3 separate regions of the Homo sapiens genome follow, and all the other regions are linked to region 1. The links are contacts of gene promoters, found by promoter capture Hi-C in human tissues and cell types (Jung and others, 2019). All regions are on one chromosome and are shown on one strand. The core of a region is centred on a gene start or on the middle of the fragment in contact, and the rest is flanking DNA. Distances in the headings are between cores, read along the strand shown.

Region 1 (4,480 bases), core at 1,397-3,896:
GGGACTCAGGCTCCCCTTGTCTGAGGAGCTTTCAAGTGGCGGAAATCCCCACACACACCTCCATTCACTAGGGGCCTGGCAGGGCCGCTGGTAGGTTCCAGTCCTCTCCTCTGTCACTTCCCAGGCGCACATGGCCAGCTCCTAGATTCCACCCTTCAACCCACTTGTTTCCTGCCTGATGCACATGACCTGCGTCTGAGTTCTCCAGGCTGCCTGGAGGAGGCATTCAGGTACACATGACCCCTCAGGGAATGATGTTCTTGCCCACAGCACCCAGGATGCTGGCTGGGCATATCTCAGCCAACACACACTCCCACCGACAGCCTCGGATCTTTTGCTCCCACCTCACAGGGTTGGCACCTGTGGAGTCTTGAGGCCCAGTAATGACCCCAAGAAGCCATCAAGTCCAGGCCCTGTCGCCCCACCATACTGCATCCACAGTGGTGTCTGAGTGGCCAGGGAAGGTAGCCCTCCCCAGCTCTCAGCACCACTGTCATGGGGCTCTGGAACTCCCGAGCCCTTGGGCAGGACTCCAGCAGGCAGCTCTGATCAGAAAGCCACCTGGGAGCCCTGTGGGTGGGACAGGACTCCAGGTAGGACCTAGCAGGCCTCCATCCAAGAGGGAGGTATGTGGAAAGCTCTCCACTGCCAGAGCCTTGGTCCTGAGGCTCTGCATTCATGGCAATGGTAACCCTCTTTCCAGGTGAATCAGAAACAGGGCACCCCAGAATCAGCCCAGCCATGAGGAGCATCTCTAGGGATCCCCATCTCTGCAGCCCCCACCAGGTTCACCACTCCTGGTCAGGTTCACGATTTTTCTTCGCCTTGCAGCTCCTTGGTGCTCTCCGCCTCCCCCCTGCCCCTTTCTTCCTCACACCGGTGGCTCAGCCTCCCCCCGACAGTTTTCTTGGTTTCTGTCTCAGCGTCTCTCTCATCTCTGAGCCCCTCTCTCTCTCTCCTCCTCTCGGATTCTCCTTTTCCTCCCCTTCCTTCCTCTCTTTCAACCTCCCCTCCCACCCCCTCCAGTCCAGCAATGGGCTGGGAACGCAGCAGGAGCCATGACAAGCCCAGGCGGCTCTCCCGACCCTTGGTGCCCCCGAGGCCATTTCCCCGCGCTCCCTGTGCCGGCAGCAGCCGCGTGCGGAGAGGGCTCGCCGACCAGAAGGGGCAGCAGGTTGGAGCTGTGGGTACGGGGGGCTCAGATCAAAGGCCAGGAATGTCTGGCCCCCTGGCGTAAGACTTCCTTCAGCCATGGCCCTCACCTCGTGGAACGCCCGCCGTTCCAGGCCTCTGTGGGACTCGGGTCGGCTCATTCTCTGCCCTTTCTGCCACAGTTCCCTACACAGCGGTCCCTGCTCCCCACCGGCAGTGCTTCCTTCACCCCAGACCGGGGCTGCGCAGAGTCCTGGTGCCTCAGGTGGCCTGGGAGGGGGCCTAGGGAAAGGCACCCAGGTGACCGGGCGTGAGTCCCCAAAACCTGACCATGATGTCAATACCACCCAGGGCTGAGACCTAATTCCTCGCTCTGGAGAGGGAGAGGAGAGGAAGCAAGCCCGAAGGGGGCCTGGAAGGACTCCTTTCCTGTGGGGAGGGGTGGGTAACTGGAGGCATTTGGTGTCCGCACAGGGCAAGGGCCTTTATCGCCAAACCCCAGGCTGGAGCTCCCTATCAGTAGAACCGGGGCCTCAGGCGGGACGGTCGGGCAGTGAGGGGCGCTCCGGAGGGCAGCAAGGTCTTCCAAGGACCTGGGCCGCCCTCGGCCAGAGCTGCGCGTTTCACCGGTCCCTGATGGTCCAACCGAGAATCCCACTGAGGCTGTGGGTCACGCCTCCGACCCGGGCCAGAGGTCGGGCCTGAACCCCTCAAGGAGGAGAAAGTGACCCGACTCCGAGAGCAGGAAATGCGACTGGCCGCTGGTGTCAGTTGCAGGAAATGCAAAGGCAGCAGGAGGTCCCGATACCGATCTGATCCCTGACAAAAGACTCAAATGACACTCGGCTCCGTCCCCCGGCGCCGCCCGCAGCCAGACCTTCGAGCCTCCGCGGACTTTTCCGCACGTTCCTCGGACACCCGGGAAGTGACCTCCCGCGGCCAGGACGAGAGGCCAGAGAGCGGGCGGACTCGGGAGGCTGGAAGCTGGGAGGGGGTGCGTTCCCCCACCCTCTGATCCTGACCTGCCCGAGCGGGGCTTCTGGAAACATCCCTGTGCTTTCTACCCTCGATTCCTCGCGGGCCCACGTCCCAACGGGTCACGGTCCCCGCCAGCAAAGGAGCCACCCGTTCATGCCCACGCCAAGCCCTCGCCATGTGAACGCCCGGGTCAAAGCCCCCGCGCCCTAACCCTGGCCAGCGGGGGACCGCGGCGGTAGCAGAGGGTCCGGCCCACCGCGTCCCCCCGAAGCCCCGCGGCGTCCGGGGCGCGGGCTTTGCCCAAGTTTGCTGGGCGATGCCCTTCCCGGAGCCCGAGTTGTGGGCCGGGCGGGAGGGGCGCGTGATTGACAGGCTGAACTACAGACTCATCTCTTACCTTAGGCCGCGGGCGCTGATTGGCTGCTCGCTGACATCCTCAAACCCGGCTGCTCCGCGCTGGGCTCGGGAGGGGGGCGGCTGCGGGTGGAGGTGCGCTTCTGACAAGCCCGAAAGTCATTTCCAATCTCAAGTGGACTTTGTTCCAACTATTGGGGGCGTCGCTCCCCCTCTTCATGGTCGCGGGCAAACTTCCTCCTCGGCGCCTCTTCTAATGGAGCCCCACCTGCTCGGGCTGCTCCTCGGCCTCCTGCTCGGTGGCACCAGGGTCCTCGCTGGCTACCCAATTTGGTGGTAAGACTCGCCTCTTGTCTGCCCGCGGCCCGGTTTCTCCGCCGCGTCCGGGGAAGGTGGGGGCGCCGGCTGGGGGTGGGCCGCTGCAGGGCTGGGGCTCCTCTCCTCGCCTCCCTCCAGCCCCCCACCCGCCCACCCCTCCTGGATTTTCTGCTGGTGTCGCCTTCAGAATCCAACTCCTGGCTCCTCTGATAATCACCATTTTCCCTGCTCCCCGCTGCAGGGGCTGGAGGACTTTTCCCATCTCAGAAGGTTTCTTATTCTTAGATCCTAACCCTCTGCCCGTCCCAATCTAGAGGCCCCCGAAGACCCCCCATTTGCTTGCAGTTGGGTTTCTGGAAATCCAGCACTGTCCCTGGGGCCCAGCCACTCCTCTTCTCCATTTTGGGGTCTTCATGGGCAAAACCATCCTGTTCCTTCACTGCCACCCCACCTCTGCCGGCGCCTCCATCAAGAGATTCCCCATAATAACCCCCCTTTGCCTTCCTATTTCAGACCCCAAAGGCTTCAGGGCTCCTCCCGGGGCAGGGGAGTGGGTGGGGGGATTTCATCAGATTCTCCCCACCGCTCTAGATTCATCTTGAGCCTCTGAAGTGAATATGGTATTTGCTGATCCGGGATGCCATTGAATTCGGATTTTATTCATTTCTTGCTTGTCCACCCTGGCAAAAGGGGGGTTCCTTGAAAATGTGTTGTCTGGGAGGGGTAGGCTTGTTGTTCTTTGACCAAAAATCCAATTCTCCATGTCACATTTCTTCCTTTTGGAAAACCGAGGACCGAGGAGAAAGGGAGAGGGAAGGGAGAATTCCGTCCCTGAGAAATGTGGATACAAAAGACATTTTAGTAAATAAGACTGGGAAGCCGGGAGCAGTGCTTGGGGGGGGCTGTGCGTGTCTGGGGGGCCTGGGTGAGGAATAAACATCGCTTTGGGAGCCCCAGCTCCAGGAGTCCCCTTGTTTTCCGAGCGGCCCCATCGCCGCTCTCCCACCCTCCGCAGGTCCCAGGGGCCAGAGGGGAAGACACTGAAACCAGTTCTCTAAATTACACTCCGCCTCTCCCCAGTCTCCAGCCCCCTACATTCCGGAAAACTTTAATTAAAGAATCTTCCCCTCCTGGACATAGGAGAGCCTTGGCCTGGGCGGGGGGAGGTGAGGAGGAAGAATTTGGGATCTGTGAGTGAGAAGTGGGCTGTGGCCCCCGGGGTGAAAGTCAGAAAGAAGTGCCACCACGGTGCGGTACCGCCTGCAGGTCCCCAGACTCCCTGCCTTTCGCCAACCCAGAGTCCAGGGTAGGAGGAGCAGAGACAGCGAGACTTGGGGGCCACACCCCGAGTCTTCCAGTTGTTTGGGGATGGCAGCATTTGTGTCTGGGTGTTTGGGGCTCCTGGGAGAGAGGGTGGGGACATGGCCAAGGGTCTCTGTTTAGAGGGTGCTAGGAGTTGCTCCCAGGACAGCCAGCCAAGGGGAAGTCTTTCTTCTGCCCAACCCACACTTTTCCGGGGGGCTGGGCTAACCTGAGGCTTCCAGCACATAAAGAAGTCCATGGGGTGGCCAGGGCAGCCAGGGACTTCAGGAAGGAGGTTCGGCCAGTCTGGGGAAAGGCTGCTGCCAACACCAGTCCAGCCTCACCCGGCCATTCCTGACCCTCTTCCCATTCCCGG
Region 2 (4,480 bases), core at 1,424-3,923, 44 kb after region 1:
GAGACTGCGTCTGCACAGCAGGAAGGGCTCAGTGGCACCTTCTTCCTGGAGATGTCTGGGAAGCACTCCGACCTTTGAGGCCAATCAAGCCATGCAGGCAGTGTGCCAGAGCTCAGGTGCTCTGCTGGGCTGCGAAGACCCACCTGGGACCCTGAGGGAGGTAACTGGTGAAACCAGGAAGCAGGGAGCCCCTTGGAGAGCTGGGTGAGGAGCCGCCTTGCCAGCATGGGCCCCCCGACTCCTCAGTCCCCCAAGCCAGCCGGCCTGGCTTTCTCTGTGGATATGGCTGTGTGACCTCGCACAAGTTGGTCCTCTTTCACGGCCTCTGCTTTTTCTTTTTCTTTTTTTTTTTTGAGACGAAGTCTCGCTCTGTCGCCCAAGCTGGAGTGCAGCGGCATGATCTTGGCTCACAACAACCTCCACCTCCCAGGTTCAAGCGATTCTCCTGCCTCAGCCTTCTGGGTAGCTGGGATTACAGGCGTGAGCCACCTGGCATGGTCGGCCTCTGTTTTTCATCTGTATAATGGGCTTTGTGCTCCCTTAGGGCTCCTCCTGTGGGTTCTGCTGCTGGACCAGGGCTCAGCCTCCAGTTTAGCTTGAGGGTGCCCAGGCCTGCAGAAGGTGTCAAGCAAGGGCTGGGAGAGGGGGAGGAAGGAGGAGGCAGGAAGGCAACGGGAGGGGAAGGAGGAGGGCAGAGGAAGGGTCTCCGAGTGCCTCTCACTCCCGCCTCAGCTCTCCGCTCCAGTGGTCCCATATAGGGCTCTGGGTCCCAAACACCAGAGGAAGGAGCGGGGACAGCCCAGGCTTCTTCCCTGGGTCTTGTTCCTGAGCTGCCCATCTAGGATGGTGCAAGGCCGAGTTGTCTGCACTGAACTCTCCCTCAGTTTCCCCTCCAGTGATTGCAGGGCTGTGGGGGCAGCTGGCACAGCAGGGCTGGGCTGGAGATGCTGCTTAAGAGCACGGGAGGGGCAGCCTGAGCCCAGAGGGAGGCTCAACGGGGACCTCTGCAGCCTGGCAGACAGGGCAGGGTACTTAGCTCCCTGGCCTCAGTTTCCTCATCTTGGAAATGGGACAATGGCGATGATAATGAAGTTTTTATTACAGACCTGCCGTGAGGATTACATAAGGTAACAGACACAAGCACTCAGAACTGTGTCCAGCACATGATAGGCCCATAATAAACCACAGGGATTATATGATCACTCTAACCTGCTTCTAACAGGGCAGGGGCAGTGCTGTGTGCGCCGTGTGCCCATCAGGGCTCTGGGCTCACTGACTCTACCCACTCAGGCATGTGCTCAGTATGGAGGCCCAGGGTGCAGATGGGCCAGGCCTGAAGCCACCTTCACCCCATGAAGACCCAGGCAGGCACTGCCCAGCAGGCAGGGTCACATAGTGATGACCCCCATGGGCTCTGGAGTCTGACACCCTGGGTTCCAACCAGCAATTCCATAGGAGCTCTGTGGTCTGGGCTGCTTCATCAACCTGCAAGGCTAAGCCATCTGTAAAATGGGGCTAATAATGACCCTACTTTGTGCTGGGGCTATTTTGAGGATTAAATGAGGCAAACCCAAGGAAAAGCCTCTGCTCAGGGCCAGGCACCGGGGAAATCAGTAATTAGCCATTACCACCGATAAATCAGAACTTCTGGGCCGGGCGTGGTGGCTCGCGCCTGTAATCCCAGCACTTTGGGAGGCCGAGGTGTGTGGATCACGAGGTCAGGAGATCGAGACCATCCTGGCTAACATGGTGAAACCCCGTCTCTACTAAAAATACAAAAAATTAGCCGGGCGTGGTGGTGGGCACCTGTAGTCCCAGCTACTCGGGAGGCTGAGGCAGGAGAATGGTGTGAACCCAGGAGGCGGAGCTTGCAGTGAGCCGAGATCACGTCACTGCATTCCAGCCTGGGTGACACAGCGAGACTCTGTCTCAAAAAAAAAAAAAAAAAAAAAAGAACTTCTGGCTGCTGCTTCTTTCTCTTTAGAAAAAGCTCAGTGCTTAAGACCTGGAATGCCTCACAGATGTTACCATCCAAACTCCCAGATCTGGCTCCTCAGTTCCTCCACCCAAAATAAACAAATGGAAAAAGGAGAACCTGCCTCTCCCCCTGACAACTGAGCCTGGAGACAACCAAGGTGGATGGGTAGCATGCCCCTGCACGGTGCCCAGGGAGCTCTGTGCCTTGGAGTCTCCACGAATTGGCCAAGGCCAACATCAAGCTCAAGTATGGAGGAGGGACCCGGGGGAAGGCACATGGCACTCTCTGACCCACCACAGACCAAAAAGCCGTAGGCAAGCTAATTCACTCTCTAAACCTCAGTTTCCTAGTCCAGGAGATAGTGATGTTCTTCATGTTTGGGAATTGATCAGAAATGTTGTATATAAAGTGCCTGGCAAGCAGTAACAGTTGCCAAATGGCAGATGTTTGGCTCGGCCCTGTGTCCAGCCCAGAAGCTTTTGTGTACTAAAAAGCACACAAAAAACCTCACCCTGCCCCATGGGGTCTTCTCCCGGCCCCTCTTTCCGAGGCTTTTGCCCATCACTTTTTGTGGGAAACTTGACTTAGGCCAATGCTGGACCAAAGCCTTGGTCAGTGCTGGACACAGAGGGAGAGGAGATGGGCCCCTTCTTCCAGCTCACACTGCCCCTGGTCATACAGCAGATTGCAATTGTCCTTGAAGGCCACTGACACTCACGGATCATTTTCTCAGGTTCTCCCAGAAAATGTCATTTCTGCTGTTCCTGTGCTGAGGGCAGGGAACGGAAAAGTCGTAATTCCTACCTTGGTTTTCTAGTATTTTAAACTCTTCTGCCCCACCCCCATAAGGTCATTCTTTCTGTTGTTGACTATAAAACCTGAGAGAGTTGATGGGATATTGATTACAAAGCGAGGGGCAGAGGAATGGAGTGAATTGACCAGTCACCTGGTGTTGGGTGTGGGCAGTGAGATCTGAGATCTCCCTTCTGACTCTGTGCTAAACTTGTTTTGACACAAAGCCAAGCTCCAGTCTCTCATGAGAAAAGAGGTGGAGCTCTAGAAACTTCTAGGAAACTGGAAAGATGGTCATGGAGGCCCTGGTAGACAAAGGACTTGGTGCAAGCCAGCAATTCCTTGGGGAGATACTGGGAGGCTCTGGGCTGGGCTGGCACCATCGCAGGGAAGAGGCTGAGGGCATTGCCAAGGGTAGTGTGTGTGTGTGCGCGCGCGCGCGTGTCCCATGAGTCACTGGAAGTGTCCATGTGGCCCCAGTATCCTGGACTGCCTTGGAAATTGCCCAGCCTGATCTCTTCAATGCCCATCAGGGAAGCTGGACCCAGAACCTGGAAAGGACTGGATCTGGGCCCCAAATACCATCTTTCTAGTCCAAACCTCTTTTCATGGCTTTGCATTGCCCCCAAGGGCCCCCACAAGCGGCTTCTGCGGTCCCATCCCCCTGCAAGCTGGATGCAGCCAGAGGGCTGACTTGCGTGGGTCAGAGCTCTGCGCTTTGAGGGGCGGCATGCTCCCGAGGTCAAAGGTAGCACATTCAGGTGCCAGGGCACAGGCCCTCTGCCTCTCCACCTACCCCGGAGGGTTCACAAAGCGGCCATGGTGCCCAGGATGGGCTCTGTGCTTTGTGCCCACAGTGTTACTACCCTCTGTCTGCCTGCAGGTCCCTGGCCCTGGGCCAGCAGTACACATCTCTGGGCTCACAGCCCCTGCTCTGCGGCTCCATCCCAGGCCTGGTCCCCAAGCAACTGCGCTTCTGCCGCAATTACATCGAGATCATGCCCAGCGTGGCCGAGGGCGTGAAGCTGGGCATCCAGGAGTGCCAGCACCAGTTCCGGGGCCGCCGCTGGAACTGCACCACCATAGATGACAGCCTGGCCATCTTTGGGCCCGTCCTCGACAAAGGTACTGCCTTGGGGCTGAGGGGGGGGGAGGGGCTGGGTGGGGGGAGGGATCAGGACTGTATGCCCTTCCACCCCAGTCAGGGTGCCTCTTCTCTGAAGCCAGGGTCCCTCTGGGAGGGTGATAAATTTGGTTGCATGACTGCCACACCTTCCCAGGCGCTGCTGGGGGCTGGGCCGCCTTGAGATGCTCCAGGATCCTGAGGTTTGAGGGCCGACACCAAGAAGGCCACAGACTTCCTTCCTGGCTTTTGCACAGTGGGCGCCTCAGGCTCCTGCTGTGGACATTTGTGACATTTCCCCAATGCTGTGTTAAGTGCTATGCAAATACCGCTTTGGGGTGGGGGTGAGAGCATTGCCACCCCTAGGTCCCTCCCATCTAGAAAGTCCTCAGTAGGTGAGGAAGCTGCCTGGTGCTGTGGTAGCATTGCGTTGCCCCCAAGAGCCCCTCTAGGTTTCTGTTCATCCTCATGCCCTGTCAGCTGGATATGCCCAGGAATCATGGTGGGGCTAGAGGGTGCACTGGCCTCTGGGTAACTTTCCGGCCGTCTTGCAGCCTGGGAGTCTAACTGGCTGTGCCTCAAGTGGA
Region 3 (4,480 bases), core at 1,476-3,975, 37 kb before region 1:
GCCTGTAGTCCCAGCTACTTGGGAGGCTGAGCCACAAGAATTGCTTGAATCCAGGAGGTGGAGGTTGCAGTTAGCCAAGATCATGCCATTGTACTCCAGCCTGGGATACAGAGTGAGACTCCATCTCAAACAACAGCAACAACAACAACAACAAAATACATAAAGAACTCTTACAATTCAATAAGAAGACAAATAACCCAATGAAATGATATTCAAATGACCAATATACACATGGGAAAATGTTCAACACACCATTCATCAATGGGGAAATACAAATTAAAACCACAATGAGATACTACTACATACTTACGAAAATAGCCACAAGTTAAAACTGATGATAGCTGACCATAGAATATGGAGCAACTGGAACTCTCATACATTACTGTGTAAAATGGTAAAACCACTCTGAAAAATGCCAATTCTATAAGTTATGCATATATCAACCATCTGATCCAACAATCCACTCCTAGACAGTTATCCAAGAGAAATGAAAACATACACCCACAAAAAGAGATGTACATGGATGTTTATACCAGCTTTATTTGGAATAGTCCAAAACTGCAAATAACCCAAATATCTTTTTTTTTTTTTTTTTTTTTTGAGACAGAGTCTTGCTCTGTTGCCCAGGCTGGAGAGCAGTGGCACAGTCTTGGCTCACTGCAACCTCTGCCTCCTGGGTTCAAGTGATTCTCCTGCCTCAGCCTCCTGAGTAGCTGGGATTAGAGGCATGCACCACCACCATCACACCCAGCTGATTCTTGTAATTTTAGTAGAGATGGGTTTTCACCATGTTGGCCAGGCTGGTCTCGAACTCCAGACCTCAAGTGATCTGCCCGTCTCGGCCTCCCAAAGTGCTGGGATTACAGGCATGAGCCACCACGCCCAGCCAAAATAACCCAAATGTCTATCAAGTGGGGAATGGATAAATAATTTGTGGTATAGCCATACAAAGGAATACTCAGCCATAAAAAGGAATTCGCTATTGCTATATTCAACGACATGGATGAATCTCAAAAGCTTTATGCTGAGCAAAATAATCCAAGCAAAAGAGGCTATATACTCACAATTTCATGATATAAACTTCCAGAATAGGCAAAACTAACACATAGTGACTGAAAGCGGAGAAGTGGAGTAGCCATGGGCTGGTGGGAGAGGGTTGATTGCAAAGAGGAACAAAGGATCCTTTAGGATGGTAGAAATGTTCTATGTAGTCATTGGAGTCACCACAAATGTGTTACACAGGTGTATAATTTGTTAAAACCCAAACTGTGCAATTTAAAATGCATGCATTGGCTGGCCGTGGTGGTGCACGCCCATAATTCTAGCACTTTGGGAGGCTGAGGTGGGTGGATCACCTGAGGTCAGGAGTTTGAGACCTGCTTGGCCAACATGGTGAAACCGTGTCTTCACTAAAAATACAAAAATTAGCTGGGCATGGTGGCGCACACTTGTCATCCCATCTACTTGAGAGGCTGAGGCAGGAGAATCACTTGAACCGGGAGGCGGAGGCTGCAGTGAGCCGAGATTGCACCACTGCATTCCAGCCTGGGCGACATAGTGAGACTCCATCTCAAAAAAAAAAAAAAGAAAGAAAAAGCATGCATTTCATTGTATATAACAACGATTTGGGGGGAAAATAAAGATTATGTTTTGTTTCTCCAATGGAATTATAGTAATGACACTTCCACCACCTGGGATGATGTTTAGAACCCCAGCATCCACTGAGAGTGAGCCTGGACTGAGCACTTAGCACATATGTGCCAGACACCCTATCCAGCCCTTTCATTCATTGTTTCAATTAAGCCTCACCCTCACCTCTCAGATAGGTATTCTCATAACCCAAAGCTCAGCAAGGTTAAGACATTTGTCTAAAGTCACACAGTTAGCAACAGGCAAAGCTGGGATTCACTGTCTTGGGCTTTCATAAACTTCTCTGTACTATCCCTAGAGAGGAAAGAAACTCAACCAGTGCAGAGGTCACACACTGAAGAAACATCACCAAAGTTAATTATGATTTAAAAACTTGCATCCACAGAAACTATTTCTAGTTACAAAGCCACTCGGATAACTTACAGACTGGACTGGGGGCCGGGCATGGTGGCACACACCTATAAGCCCAGCAGTTTGGGAGGCTGAGGTGGGTGGATCATTTGAGGTCAGGAGTTCCAGACCAGCCTGATCAACATGGTCTCTACTAAAAATACAAAAATTAGCCAGGCATGGTGGCACATGCCTGCAATCTCAGCTACTGGGGAAGCTGAGGCAGGAGAATCTGTTGAACTTGGGAGGTGGAGGTTGCAATGAGCCGAGATCACACCATTGCACTCTAGCCTGGGTGACAGAGCGAGACTCCGTCTCTAAATAAATAAATAAATAGACTGGATTGGGTAACTGGGCCTGTCTTGTGCCCAGCTCATCACATAATGCAGTGCATTTTCATTTATACAACATCACAGAAGTTAACATTTGTGGAATTCCTAGGCATTCAAAGCCAAAATAAAAACTCTTCAGCAATCCTAGACTTCCAGAGCCAGGACCAGCCCTGTTAGCATTAGGGAACCTTAGCACCTCCAGGTGCTACTGACCTTGGAGATGAGTGACTTGATCAGGGACAACACAGAGAGTGTCCCAGAGCCAGGACTAGCTTGGACCCTCACCTCTGGTCCGCCTCCTGTCCCACTGCCATCATGCTGTTCTGTGAGCCAAACTGACAGTCTAGCAGGGGTCAGTGCAACCCGTCTCACTACTGAGGACAGAAAAGAATGTGCGGCCTTATCCATCTCACTACAGCCAAGAGAGTCTAAAAGAGTCAATTAAGCAGGGAAGGGAGGCTCCCTCCACCCTCACCCCCTTCGGCCTCTCTGCAGCCACTGCTGCCCTGGGGGAATCATACTGTCTTAGCACTGGAGGCTGTTCCTGTAGGTTGAAGGGCCCAGACTGGAAGCAGGGTTTCTATTCAACCTCCCCCACCGATTCACTGTGTAACACTGGGTGACTGACTGAACCTTTCTGACCTTCAGATTCCTTGTGGGAACTATTTACACCCATCCTACATGGCTCTGGAGAAATGGCTCTGAGGATCAGATGAGAGAGATGGCTGTATGAGAAAGTGATGGGCTGGGCATGGTAGCTCATGCCTGTAATCCCAGCACTTTAGGAGGCCCAGGCAAGTGGATCACCTGAGGTCAGGAGTTCAAGACCAGCCTGCCCAACATGGTGAAACCCCATCTCTATTAAAAATACAAAAATTAGTGGGGTGTGATGGGGGGCACCAGTAATCCTAGCTCTCGGAAAGCTGAGGCAGGAAAATTGCTTGAGCCCAGGAGGTGGCGGTTGCAGTGAGCCGAGATCATGACACTGCACCCAGCCTGGGTGACACAGCAAGACTCCATCTCAAAAAAAGAAAAAAGAGATTTGTAAACTGCAATACTAGTTATGTTTTTTTTTATCACCATTAACAGAATTAGGCTCTAGGCTCACTCAAAAGCAGCAGAACCAACAGCTGGCTCACTGTGGTTTGGGGTTTGGGGGTTGCCTCATCTGAAAAATTGGGATAATAATACATCCTGCTTGAAGCAGTGAGTTTTGGACCAGAGATCCTTCTGGGGTCACTTCCAACTCTGAAGTCTACGATTCTATGATTTCAAAGAGCCCAAGAAGATCGGCCTCACCTGCCCTCCTGATGTTTGCATATTCTCTTATCAGGATGCCAAAGCACTTTGTGTTATAATCAAATGCAAATGACTGCGGAGGAAGAAGCGCTTTGCCTCACTTTCCCACTACAGTGTAGATGACTGATACCAGATTCCTCCCAGACAGCGAATGCAGATGGGAAGCTGGGAAACCTGGTCTGAGTCACCAGAGGGTTTCTTAACTGAGAGCTCAGGCTGAATCCTGTCTGTTCCCTGAGACCAAACACTTAACATCATGAGGCCCCAGTTTTAGCTGATTCTCTGAGCATCTGTCCTGCTCCCCAGATTGGGGTGGTGGTGGCTTTTGTGTCTTTTGTCAGCTCTTTCCAGCTGGGCTCCTGACCTGGAAGAGGTGGCTCCGATACTCATCCCTCTCAGCCCTAACCCAGGCCTATTTGACCATCTCACATGTCATTTTCAAGGCTGCTCCATGCTCAGTTCCCTCAAAATTCTAACCCCATGCACTGCTGAGAACACCTTTCCCTTCCAATACAGCAGCTAGGGTGGTCCTCCTGGAACCCCTCTCCTCTCATCTCACCTGACTCTTGCCCCATCTCTAACCATAAAAACCAAGCAAACAAATGAATCGTGGAAATGAGCCAGTGTGTAAGAGGATATAGGTACCATTTGTCCCATCCCTTTCCATTCCAGCTCAGAAAACTGTTAGGGCCAGGACATCAAGATTCTATAACTGGTTTCCTTAATGAAAAAAACTAGCCAGGCCTGGTGGCTCATGCCTGTAATCCCAGCACTTTGGGAGGCTGAGTTGGGCAGATTGAGATCAGGAG

Evidence for each region. The method cuts DNA at HindIII sites, captures the fragments that hold promoters and counts their contacts. A contact is called where the count stands out against the background at its distance.
Region 2: a fragment that was not itself captured here is called in contact with the fragment with the promoter of WNT3 in region 1 in 2 of the 25 tissues and cell types used here (IMR-90 fibroblasts and neural progenitor cells).
Region 3: a contact is called between a fragment that was not itself captured here and the fragment with the promoter of WNT3 in region 1, in 1 of the 25 tissues and cell types used here (spleen).

Annotation. Positions count from the first base shown.
Region 1 is chr17:46,816,858-46,821,337 of GRCh38, reverse strand. WNT3 (Wnt family member 3) reads left to right here and starts at 2,646. Exons shown (of 5, transcript NM_030753.5): 1 at 2,646-2,820. The coding sequence starts at 2,741. It also overlaps a transcript of LRRC37A2 not described here. RefSeq lists an enhancer at 1,004-1,591. The HindIII fragment of the contact is 29,146 bases long and covers 1-4,480 here.
Region 2 is chr17:46,773,083-46,777,562 of GRCh38, reverse strand. It overlaps WNT3 (Wnt family member 3), which reads left to right. Exons shown (of 5, transcript NM_030753.5): 2 at 3,654-3,895. It also overlaps a transcript of LRRC37A2 not described here. Among named protein-coding and RNA genes, the nearest start is that of WNT3, 43 kb to the left of the region's middle. RefSeq lists enhancers at 742-1,417, 3,135-3,279, 2,933-3,588, 3,589-4,246, 4,247-4,480 and a cis regulatory region at 3,200-3,215. The HindIII fragment of the contact is 7,321 bases long and covers 1-4,480 here.
Region 3 is chr17:46,853,595-46,858,074 of GRCh38, reverse strand. The region is part of intron 1 of WNT9B (Wnt family member 9B); the gene reads right to left. It also overlaps a transcript of LRRC37A2 not described here. Among named protein-coding and RNA genes, the nearest start is that of WNT9B, 4.3 kb to the right of the region's middle. The HindIII fragment of the contact is 5,707 bases long and covers 1-4,480 here.